4 separate regions of the Homo sapiens genome follow, and all the other regions are linked to region 1. Evidence: promoter capture Hi-C in 16 types of primary human blood cells and fetal thymus (Javierre and others, 2016). All regions are on one chromosome and are shown on one strand. The core of a region is centred on a gene start or on the middle of the fragment in contact, and the rest is flanking DNA. Distances in the headings are between cores, read along the strand shown.

What was found. Contacts are between HindIII fragments. The CHiCAGO score rates a contact against its expected background, and 5 or more counts as called.
Region 2: a contact is called between a fragment that was not itself captured here and the fragment with the promoter of DCTPP1 in region 1, in 2 of 17 cell types (fetal thymus and endothelial precursors). The highest score is 8.2, in fetal thymus.
Region 3: a contact is called between a fragment that was not itself captured here and the fragment with the promoter of DCTPP1 in region 1, in 4 of 17 cell types (total B cells, naive B cells, activated CD4 T cells and 1 more). The highest score is 7.1, in total B cells.
Region 4: a contact is called between a fragment that was not itself captured here and the fragment with the promoter of DCTPP1 in region 1, in 1 of 17 cell types (naive B cells). The highest score is 6.0, in naive B cells.

What each region holds. Positions count from the first base shown.
Region 1 is chr16:30,428,758-30,431,314 of GRCh38, forward strand. It overlaps DCTPP1 (dCTP pyrophosphatase 1), which reads right to left and starts at 1,273. Exons shown (of 3, transcript NM_024096.2): 1 at 1,123-1,273; 2 at 300-410. The coding sequence starts at 1,223. RefSeq lists enhancers at 1-377, 1,131-1,210, 1,611-1,720. The HindIII fragment of the contact is 11,131 bases long and covers 282-2,557 here.
Region 2 is chr16:30,051,201-30,053,757 of GRCh38, forward strand. It overlaps LOC112694756 (uncharaterized LOC112694756), which reads left to right and starts at 1,951. Exons shown (of 14, transcript NM_001365304.2): 1 at 1,951-2,017; 2 at 2,264-2,299. The coding sequence starts at 2,294. It also overlaps a transcript of TLCD3B not described here. RefSeq lists an enhancer at 2,354-2,557. The HindIII fragment of the contact is 1,085 bases long and covers 739-1,823 here.
Region 3 is chr16:30,705,357-30,707,913 of GRCh38, forward strand. It overlaps SRCAP (Snf2 related CREBBP activator protein), which reads left to right. Exons shown (of 34, transcript NM_006662.3): 5 at 1,827-2,012; 6 at 2,216-2,356. Among named protein-coding and RNA genes, the nearest start is that of SNORA30, 3.9 kb to the right of the region's middle. The HindIII fragment of the contact is 157 bases long and covers 1,191-1,347 here.
Region 4 is chr16:30,686,932-30,689,488 of GRCh38, forward strand. No RefSeq gene overlaps it. Among named protein-coding and RNA genes, the nearest start is that of SRCAP, 11 kb to the right of the region's middle. The HindIII fragment of the contact is 3,737 bases long and covers 1-2,557 here.

The DNA.
Region 1 (2,557 bases), core at 23-2,522:
CCCCGTCTCAAAAAAAAGCCAAAAAAACAAAAAACAAAAGAAGGGAAAAGGGTTGTTGCCACTGCTTCTTCCTAGACGGGACCTGTCCTGATGCTTTCACACCTCACACCTCTCTCTTCCAGGAGGCTGAGTGCCCCTAGAGGGCAGGGACCCGTGAGTCCTCTCTGCATCCCAACAACAGCAAAGAGCCTAGCAATCAGGAGGGGAAACTGAACCCATGAATGTTTGAAGACCAAATAAATGCTCCCCTCCCCTCCCCCACAACTCAGACTCTACCAGGAAGCTTTCCATCTACTCACAAGAGTTCTGCCAGCTCCCCCACTTCCCCAACCAAGGCCAGGAGGAGATTCCGAGGCTGATGGAACTGTTCCCAGTCTCGTTCCGCAGCAAACTCAGCATGGAGGCGGCGGCTGAAATAGGACAAAGGAGTGTAAGTCCAAGTCTCCGGGTTAGAGGGTGATGCAGGGGCCAGAGGCAGCTACCCCCGTAGTATGTAATGGGGCCTGGGACCAGGAGATTCTGCAACTAATTCATTGGATGGTATTGTGCAGGTCATTTCCTCTTTCCGGAACTTGGTTCCCTCATCTATAAAATGGGCGTGCCCCTGAACTGCCCTTAACATCTCGCCAAAACTAACAAAACCCTCTTCATTATTCCATCTCCTGCTGCTACTTCTGCAGTTTCCTCCACCTGGAATCGCCGCACATCAAAATGCAATTTCTCTTACAGAAGGTAGTTCCACAGACCCTTCCTCTAAGAAGCCTTTCTTGACCTCCTCCAGCAAAAAATAACGTCTCCCACCTCTCAGCACTTCGTTTGCCCCTCTCGTACCCCCGGCGCCTGGAGAGCAGAGGCGGTATCTGGTGCCGGTATCTTCCCAGGGCTAGGCTGAAGGGCGTTCCTAGTTACCACTCGGAGGCACCACCCAATTTCCCTTGCCTCAGGTGTGCACCGCTGCGCCCATTTTGCAGATGAGGTAAGAAGGCTCACCCAGGGACAGCCCACAGAGCCAGGACCCGAGCCCCGCTGCCAGCCCGCTTCCCGACCACGTGGAGGAACCCTCCCCAAAACGCGGGAGAAAGGGGCGACTTCCCCACCCCGAGCTGGGCCAGGCCTGCTTACATGTCCTCGAGCGTGGGCTCCGGGCTGAAGCTGAACCGGCCGGGAGCAGCAGTGTCCTCTCCCCCCGTGTCCCCACGAATCTCCCCACCGGCCACAGACATGCCGCCCACCGCTGCACCGCGACTTCACGGAAAACCCACGAGCCACGCTCGAAGCCCCGCCTCCAGAGCTCCGACCAATTACGGGAGTTCTCTATTGCCTCACGGGGCGGAGCCTGAGGAAAGAGACCAATGACTTTTGTGGAGTTTGCTACAGCCCTCCCCTTCCCTCACTGGACCAATCTGAGGGAGCTTCAAGCGCGCGTTTCTAGTCTTAGGCCCTGGAATTCTTCCGCTAGGCCCTGTGTCTAAAGGTAGAGGTACCAATTCGACCTGGGGAAGAGACGAAGGGCAGAGGGTGGGGGAAGCGCAGGCGCGTCACTTCGTTTATGGGCGCCAGAGGGCGCCAAAGCGAAACGGCAGCGGAAGAGGGCCCGTCAGGTGGAAAACCCTATAAATGAAAGGCCCTATGCATAGGTATTAAATCAGGGCTTAAGGACGTTGAGAAACCTCGAGGCCAACCCCCACACTATTTGGATGGGATTGAAGGGGAAGAGCGGAGTAAGATCAGACGGCAGTAGGACTTCAGCTCCCCGCCATCGCTGTGTCCTGTGGTTGAAACGATGGAGGTCGCCCCATCCCTGTCCTAAGGGAGGCAGTAGGCCCCAGCGCAACGTACATTGCCCTGAAACACGTGGCCCCTTATGGTCTGGCCTGTGCCGGCCTCTCCAGCCTCATGGGTCCCCAGCACGGCTCCTCCACCCCACACACGAGAACTCCAGGCTCCACTCACACCAGGGAATACGCGAGGTGGCGAGTCACAGGGTTGCTGCTTTCAAATCAGAACCACTGAGTTATTGGCCATGGGAGGAGCAGAGATCTTTATGAAACCCTAGAACAGGTGTAGTCTTGCAAAGAATGATTTATTATTGTACCCTTATTAGGGCTACTATCTCTGATTTCCACGTTTAAAGAGGCTTCCAGCTTGCTGGAAGTGAAAGCGTAAGAAAGCGCAGGAAGAGGCAGAGTCAGATTTTGGAAATTAAAATCCCAAGGCTGTGACAATTGCAATTCTAGGTATATGCCCTAGAGAAATTAATGAATATGTGCAGAGAGACACATGCAAGAAGTTCATTACAGTTTTGTTTCTAAGAGTGAAAAAAATTGAAAATAAAATGACTATCAACGGAAGAATGGCTACATGGAAGTATATTTATACAAATGATATTATCCAGCAGTTAAGATTGGATACATGCAACAGAAACAAGTTTAAACTGCTTTTAGCAAGAAAAAGAAATCTATTATTTTTATTTTTTAAATTTTTTATAGAGACAGGGTTTCACCATGTTGCCTAAGCTGGTCTTGAACCAGGATTGCTGGATTGGGCTCTAGCAATC
Region 2 (2,557 bases), core at 31-2,530, 380 kb before region 1:
CCTGGCCAACATAGTGAGACCCCATGTCTACTTTATTAAAAGAAAAAAACAGGCCAGGCGCAGTGGCTCACACCTGTAATCCCAGCACTTTGGGAGGCCAAGGCGGGCAGAACACCTAAGGTCGGGAGTTCGAGACCAGCCTGACCAACATGGACAAACCCCGTCTCTACTAAAAATACAAAATTAGCTGGGCATGGTGGCACTTCCAGCTACTCTGGAAGCTGAGGCAGGAGAATTGCTTGAATCCAGGGCGGAGGTTGCAGTGAGCTGAGATCACACCATTGCACTCCAGCCTGGGCGACAAGAGCAAAACTCCGTTTCAAAAAAAAAAAAAAAAAAGAAAAGAAAAGAAAAAAGAAAGAAAGAAAGAAAAAGAATCAGTGAGTATTCACCAAGGCTCCCAGGGCTAGGCCAAGTACTAGAGCTCAGGATACGGAGATGACTCAGACCAGGCCCCAGACACTTGCAGTCTAATTGTGGAGCCAGACATGGAAGTGAGGAATTCAAGTATCTTGTGAGAAGTGCGAGAACAACAGTATCTGTAGGATGCTGTGGGAATTCACAGTCCAAAGCAGCCACCTCTGCCTGAGGTTGGCAGGGAGACCTCACAGAGGCAAAACTGAGGACGTGCTTGAGGGATGAGGAAGAGGTTTGAGGGGAAGACAGAGGGTGTTCCAGGCAGAGGGATCAGCAACTGCAAAGCTGTGGAAATGTGAGACCCTACACACTGGTTCAGGAAGCTTCAGCAGATCCTACTGAAGGTGGCTTATGCCTGTAATCCCAGCTACCTGGGAGGCTGAGGCTGGAGGACTGCTTGAGCCCAGGAGTTCAAGACCAGCCTTAACAACATAGCAAGACCACATCTCTAAAAATTCAGAAAAAAAGGCTGGGCACAGTGGCTCATGCCAGTAATCCTAGCACTTTGGGAGGCCAAGGCGGGCGGGATTGCCTGAGGTTAGGAGTTCGAGACCAGCCTGGCCAACATGGTGAAACCCCGTCTCTACTAAAAATACAAAAATTAGGTGTGCGTGGTGGCAGTCGCCTGTAATCTCAGCTACTCGGGAGGCTGAGGCGGGAGAATCGCTTGAACCCAGGAGACATAGGTTGTAGTGAGCCAAGATCACACCATTGCACTCCAGCCTGGGAGATGAGCGAAAATCTGTCTCCAAAAAATAAATAAATCAATTAATAAATAAATCAGTAAAAAAGAACCGGGCCCGGCGCGGTGGCTCACGCCTATAATCCCAGCACTTTGGGAAGCTGAGGCGGGCGCATCACTTGAGGTCAGGAGTTCGAGACCAGCCTGGTCAACATTGCGAAACCCTGTCTCTACTAAAAATACAAAAATTAGCCGGGTGTGGTAGTGCGCGCCTGTAATCCCAGCTACTCGGGAGGCTGAGGCAGGTGAATCACTTGAACACGGGAGGCGGAGGTTGCAGTGAGCCGAGATCGCGCCACTGCACTGCAGCCTGGGCGACAGAGCGAGACTCCGTCTCAAAAATAAATAAATAAATAAATAAATAAATAAATAAATAAATATAAATAAAATATAAAAAGTAGCATTGATGTTTACAATATCCCTGAGCGGCAGGCGTTTCTCCCTTTTGCAGATGCTCAGTGGCTTGGCCGGAGATACATCCAAGTGGTGGGTGTAGCCTGGGGGTTCAATCCTCCTGTGGCGCCCCAGAACCCGGTGCCTCCTCCAACGTCCGGCATCTGATGAGGATCCGACCCAGGCGGGCGGCGGCGGGATTCGCTCTTCCCCTTCGCTCCCCGCGAGAAAGCCCCGAGGGCCGCGGCGGCGCAGAGCCGGTGACAGTTGAAGCTTAGGCGGGAAGAGGGAGGCGCGAGGCGGGAAGAGGGAGTTTGGGCCTCGGCAGCCGCCGTACAAACACCGCTCTGGTCACCATGGCAACAGCGGGATGCCGCGAACGGCTTCTGGGCGGGGCCGGTCCCTCGGACGATTGGACCTAGCTTGGCGCGGAATCCGTGAATTGCCCGCGGCCCGAGGGTGCAGGTGATGGGTGCTGACCGACTGGGGAAGCCCGGAGTGTGGGGACTGAGGAGGGGAGTGGCCTGGGGCGCGCTGGAGCCTGCGAGGAAGGCGCCGCCTCGGATCCCCCGCCCCCCATTCCCCTTCCCGAATTCCACCCTCCGGCCCAGCCATGGCCTCAGTTTCCCCAAACAGGAAAGGGAAGGAGGGTGGGCACCCCGGTCTAACGGTGCCTCTCAGCCTCTGAGACCCAGAACCTTCCTTCTGCAGCTCCCGGACTGACTGGCTCTGCCCTTCCCCATGGACGTAAGTCCGGGCCCCTTCCCCTCTCTGGGCCCCCTCAGCGCCCTCTCCTAACCCCGAATGGGCCTGTCTTCCAGCACGGACTGGGGAGGGGGCTTCTACCCAACAGAGACTACAACCTGCCAGCTCAGGACGAGAGCTGTCAGGAAGAGTCCAGGAATGGACTTCCCACGGGAGGGCACATTTCTGGTATTCCTGGCAAGATAAGGAGTTGACTAAGTAATCCACGAGAAAAGGCATTTCCGGCAGAGGAAACAGTCT
Region 3 (2,557 bases), core at 19-2,518, 280 kb after region 1:
TAGGGCCCAGCAATGTTTTTATTTTTTATTTTTATTTTTATTTTATTTATTTATTTTGTTGAGACGGAGTCTCGCTCTGTCGCCCAGGCTGGAGTGCAGTGGCAGAATTTTGGCTCACTGCAAGCTCCGCCTCCCGGGTTCACAGCCATTCTCTGGCCTCAGCCTCCTGAGTAGCTAGGACTACAGGCGCCCGCCATCACACCCGGCTAAATTTTTTGTATTTTTAGTAGAGATGGGGTTTCACCATGTTGGCGGGATGGTCTTGATCTCTTGACCTTGTGATCTGCCAGCCTCGGCCTCTGAAAGTGCTGGGATTACAGGCATGAGCCACTGCGCCCGGCCACAATTGGGTTTTTTTTTTTTTCCTTGAGACGGAGTCTCAGTCTTTCGCTGAGGCTGGAGTGCAGTGGCATGATCTCGGCTCACTGCAAGCTCCGCCTCCTGGGTTCACGCCATTCTCCTGCCTCAGCCTCCCGAGTAGCTGGGACTAAGCGCTCGCCACTATGCCTGGCTAATTTTTTGTGTTTTTAGTAGACACGGGGTTTCACCGTTTTAGCCAAGATGGTCTCGATCTCCTGACCTTGTGATCCACCCGCCTTGGCCTCCCAAAGTGCTGGGATTACAGGTGTGAGCACAACCTGTTTCTAAAAGTCCTCCAGATGATTCCGGTGCCTCCTCAAGTTTGAGAGCAGCTGGTCTAATATCCACGTCTTTCTTGATGTTTCCTTCACTGTCAGGCCATTTAGTCCTGTCTGGTCTCTGGCTGTCATTTTCTCTGATTTAGTTTTTATCAGGAGAGGACAGAAATAACAAAGACAGAGGCTGGGTGCGGTGGTTTTCGCCTATAATCTGAGCATTTTGGGAATCCCAGGCAGGCGGATTGCTTAAACCCAGGAGTTCCAGACCAGCCTTGACATTGTGAAACCTCGCCCCTACGAAAAATACAAAAAAATTAGCTGGGCATGGTTGCATGTGCCTATAGTCAGTCTCAGCTACCTGGGAGGCTGAGTTGGGAGGCTGAGTTGGGAAGATAACCTGAGCCTAGGCAGCAGAGTGAGACCCAGAAAAATCTCACTCAGATTTCTGAGTGAGATTCAGAAAAAGAAATAAGGCAGTTGTCCTGAATTTTTTGAGTCGTCTCTGTCAAAAAAATTTTAAATGCTTTTTAAATAAAAGACAATCAGTGTAGAAGCTTTAGTAAAAATGACCACTCTTTTTTACACCTAATCAGTGTTAAACATTTCACGTATAACGTTTCAGTATTTTTTACATAAACATATGCATTTTTACAAAAGTAGTATTTTTAAAAACAACAGTGTGTCAGTTGGGCATTATAGCATATTTCTAAGCTTAATGCATCATGAAAATACTCTGAGTAAGTAGAATTCTACAATGATGATGACCCCTTGTATCTAGAATCAAGAGGGAAGTATGTGTTCCCTACTCCTCTGGGAAGCTCCTCTTGGGATATGATTTCCCAAGTCTCTCCTATGTCTATGGGGTGTGGAGATTGTGTTAAATAATGGAAAGAGCATGAAATTTGCTGTCTGGAGTCCTCAGACCTATTTTTGATTCACATTTTCTATTACTTTCTAGCTGTGTGATCTTGGGCAAATCACTTAATCTCCCTGATCTTTTTTCCTTCTTCATCTCCCTGATCTTTTTTCCCTTCTCTGAAGAGAGTATGATACCTGCCTGTAAGTTTGGTATGTGGACTAAACATAAGCATAACACACTCAGCCCACTTAGTGCTCAGGAATTCAGCCGTGGCAGTGAGATGGAGTGTGTGTTTAGAACTGTTGATTGATCTGGCTCTCCCTGATTAGGAGGCCGAGATCGAGACTCGGATTGCTGAGCTGCGGAAGGAGGGTTTCTGGTCACTGAAGAGGCTGCCTAAGGTGCCAGAGCCCCCTCGCCCCAAAGGTCACTGGGACTATTTGTGCGAAGAGATGCAGTGGCTCTCTGCTGACTTTGCTCAGGAGCGCCGTTGGAAACGGGGTGTGGCCCGGAAGGTAGGTCTTCCGCTGGGACTTCCTTCCTTTTCCTTTTCAGGTCTGTTCCTTCCCGGTTTGTTGGAAGGGGACCAGACAGAATGGTGTAGGCATTAAGAGCAAACTCTTGATTTTCCAGATTTCTTGGCCTTGATTATTTTCTTTGCCTTTGGGTGGGGAAGTCTGGCTTTGAGTGTTTTCACCCTGGGTCTTCATTCCCACAGGTGGTGCGCATGGTGATCCGGCACCACGAGGAGCAGCGGCAGAAAGAGGAACGGGCCCGGAGGGAGGAGCAGGCCAAGCTGCGTCGAATTGCTTCCACCATGGCCAAGGATGTCAGGCAGTTCTGGAGCAATGTGGAGAAGGTAGACAGTGGGGATCAGGAAAGGAAAATGGCCTTGGATTAGATTGGTAGATGGCGTGGTAGTAGGAATGATCAAAACTTCTTGAGGGAGTAAATATAATTTCAGGCAACTCTAATGACGTTTATGTTGTATGGATAAAAAAGTATAGTGGCAAAATATGGGTCCTGCCTTTGGGGATTGTTAATAGTTCTCCTTGACACC
Region 4 (2,557 bases), core at 28-2,527, 260 kb after region 1:
GGGTGAGGCAGGAGAATTGCTTGAACCCAGGAGGCGGATATTGCAGTGAGCCGAGATCTTGCCATTGCACTCCAGCCTGGCAACAATAGTGAAACTCCTTCTCAAAAAAAAACAAAAAAAAAAACAAAAAAAACCCAAAAAAATCCAAAGTAACTATAAGCCGGGTGCTGTAGCTCACGCCTGTAATGCCAGCACTTTGGGAGGCCTCCGAGGCAGGCGGATCACCTGAGGACAACATGGTGAAACTGTCTCTACTAAAAATACAGAAAACTTAGCTGGGCATGGTGGCTCATGCCTGTAATCCCAGCTACTCAGGAAGCTGAGGCAGGAGAATCGTTTGAACCCAGGAGGAGGAGGTTGCAGTGAGCCGAGGTCAGGCCCACTGCACTCCAGCCTGGGGGACAGAGGGAGATTCTGTCTCAAAAATAAATAAATAGTAACGATAAAGCAAACATTTGTTTTACCTCTACCTTAAAAACATTTTCAGTAGTTGTTGTTTTGTAAAGACAGGGTCTGACTATGTTTCACCTGCTGGTCTGGAACTCCTGGACTCAAGCAATCCTCTTTCCTCAGCCTCCCAAAGTGTTGAGATTACAGGCGTGAGCCACTGCTCCCGGCCAGTTGTTTTTAAGTTTAAAAAATAAGTATAACAAACACCTGTGGCCTGCGCCTGTAATCCCAGCTACTCAGGAGGCTGAGGCAGGAGAATCGCTTGAACCCAGGAGACAGAGGTTGCAGTGAGCTGAGATCGCGCCACTACACTCCAGCCTGGCAACGAGTAACACTCTGTCTCAAACAACAACAACAAAAACACACCAAAAAAACACCTGTGTACCACTCTCCAGGAATTAACAAACACATTCTGCTATTTTTTTGTTTTGTTTCCTTTTTTTTTTCTAACAAGACCACAAAACAGAAGGTACTTATTCTACACACCTTTTTTTTTTTTTTTTTTTTTTAGAATGCAGTACTTAATGGTCACTCTTTTGTGAGTCACTTAATGGATCAAGGCTTTTCTTATTTATTGTATGTCATGTGACCTCAGCCAATATTCTCCTTTTGTTGTTGTTGTTTTGTGTTTGTTTGTTTTGAGGTGGAGTCTCACTGTTGCCCAAGGATGGAGTGTAGTGGCGTAATCTCGGCTCACTGAAAACTCAGCTTCCTGGGTTCAAGAATTTTTTTTAATTTTTTTTGAGATGGACTCTCGCTCTGTTGCCCAGACTGGAGTGCAGTGACGTGATCTCGGCTCACTGCAACCTCTGCCTCCCGGGTTCAAGCAATTCTCTGCCTCAGCCTCCCAAGTACCTGGGATTACAGGCGCCTGCCAAGATTACCCACTAATTTTTTTGTGTTTTTAATAGAGACGGGGTTTCGCTATCTTGGCCAGGCTGGTCTTGAACTCCTGACCTCATGATCCACCCGCCTCGGCCTCCCAAAGTGCTGGGATTAGGCATGAGCCACCGTGCCCGGCCGAATAATTTTTTAATTCAAATAAAAAAGTTTGGGCATGCTTACAGTCCCTCCGACAGCAGTGTGTGCACCTAGCTGCCCATACCCTTCCTAGAACTGGGTGTCATAATTACAGTTTCCTTCTCATAAGGTTGGGATGTTTTGGATTCGTGTGTTTGCTTAAGATGTGCTGGGTTCAACCCACGAAGGCTCTGTGCTTGGCTGTGTTCTGAGAAGTTTTCAGTCCTTGTGGAGAGGAGAGGTATTCTAGCACCCTCTCCTAGCCTCCTGGGACCTCAGCCACCCACAACTGCCTTCCAGAGTTTCCTCGCAGAGGTTCCCCAGAAGAGTTATTTGCTAAATCTGTCAACCTTACCACCACATTCCCTTTCTGCTTAAAGATTTCAATCTCCATCACCTTTTACCTAGACTACAGCAGTCACTTAGACTCTTATCCCAACAGTCCGTTGTCAGCACGTTGTATCTGGCCTCTGCTCAAAGCCCTCCTGCTACACTTCACATTCCATCTAAGCTCCTTAGCTTGGTCTTCAAAGCCCTGCCAGATGCAGGCCTGATCCTCTTCTAAGACCGCATCTCCCACTGTTCCCCTTCCCCTGCAGTCTCCTGGTGGGTTCCTGGCAGGATAAGCTGGGTCTAGCCTCAGGGACTTTGTACTTATTATTATTATTATTTTATGAGACAGAGTTTTGCTCTTGTCACCCAGGCTGGAGTACAATGGAATGATCTTGGCTCACTGCAACCTCCACTTCCTGGGTTCAAGCGATTCTCCTACCTCAGCCTCCCAAGTAGCTGGGAGTACAGGTGCTCGCCACCAGGCCCAGCAAATTTTTGTAGTAGAGATGGGTTTTCACCATGTTGGCCAGGCTGGTCTCGAACTCCTGATCTCAGGTGATACACCTGCTTCAGCCTTCCAAAGTGCTGAGATTATAGGCGTGAGCCACCGCGCCCGGCCCCTTTGTACTTATTTACCTCTGCTTAGGATGCTCTTCCCCCAGAGCGTCTCTGTTCAAATGTCACCACACTAGAGAGGCCCTCCCAGACAATCTTGTCTAAAATAATGCCTCTTCTGCCCCTCACCCGAGCTCAT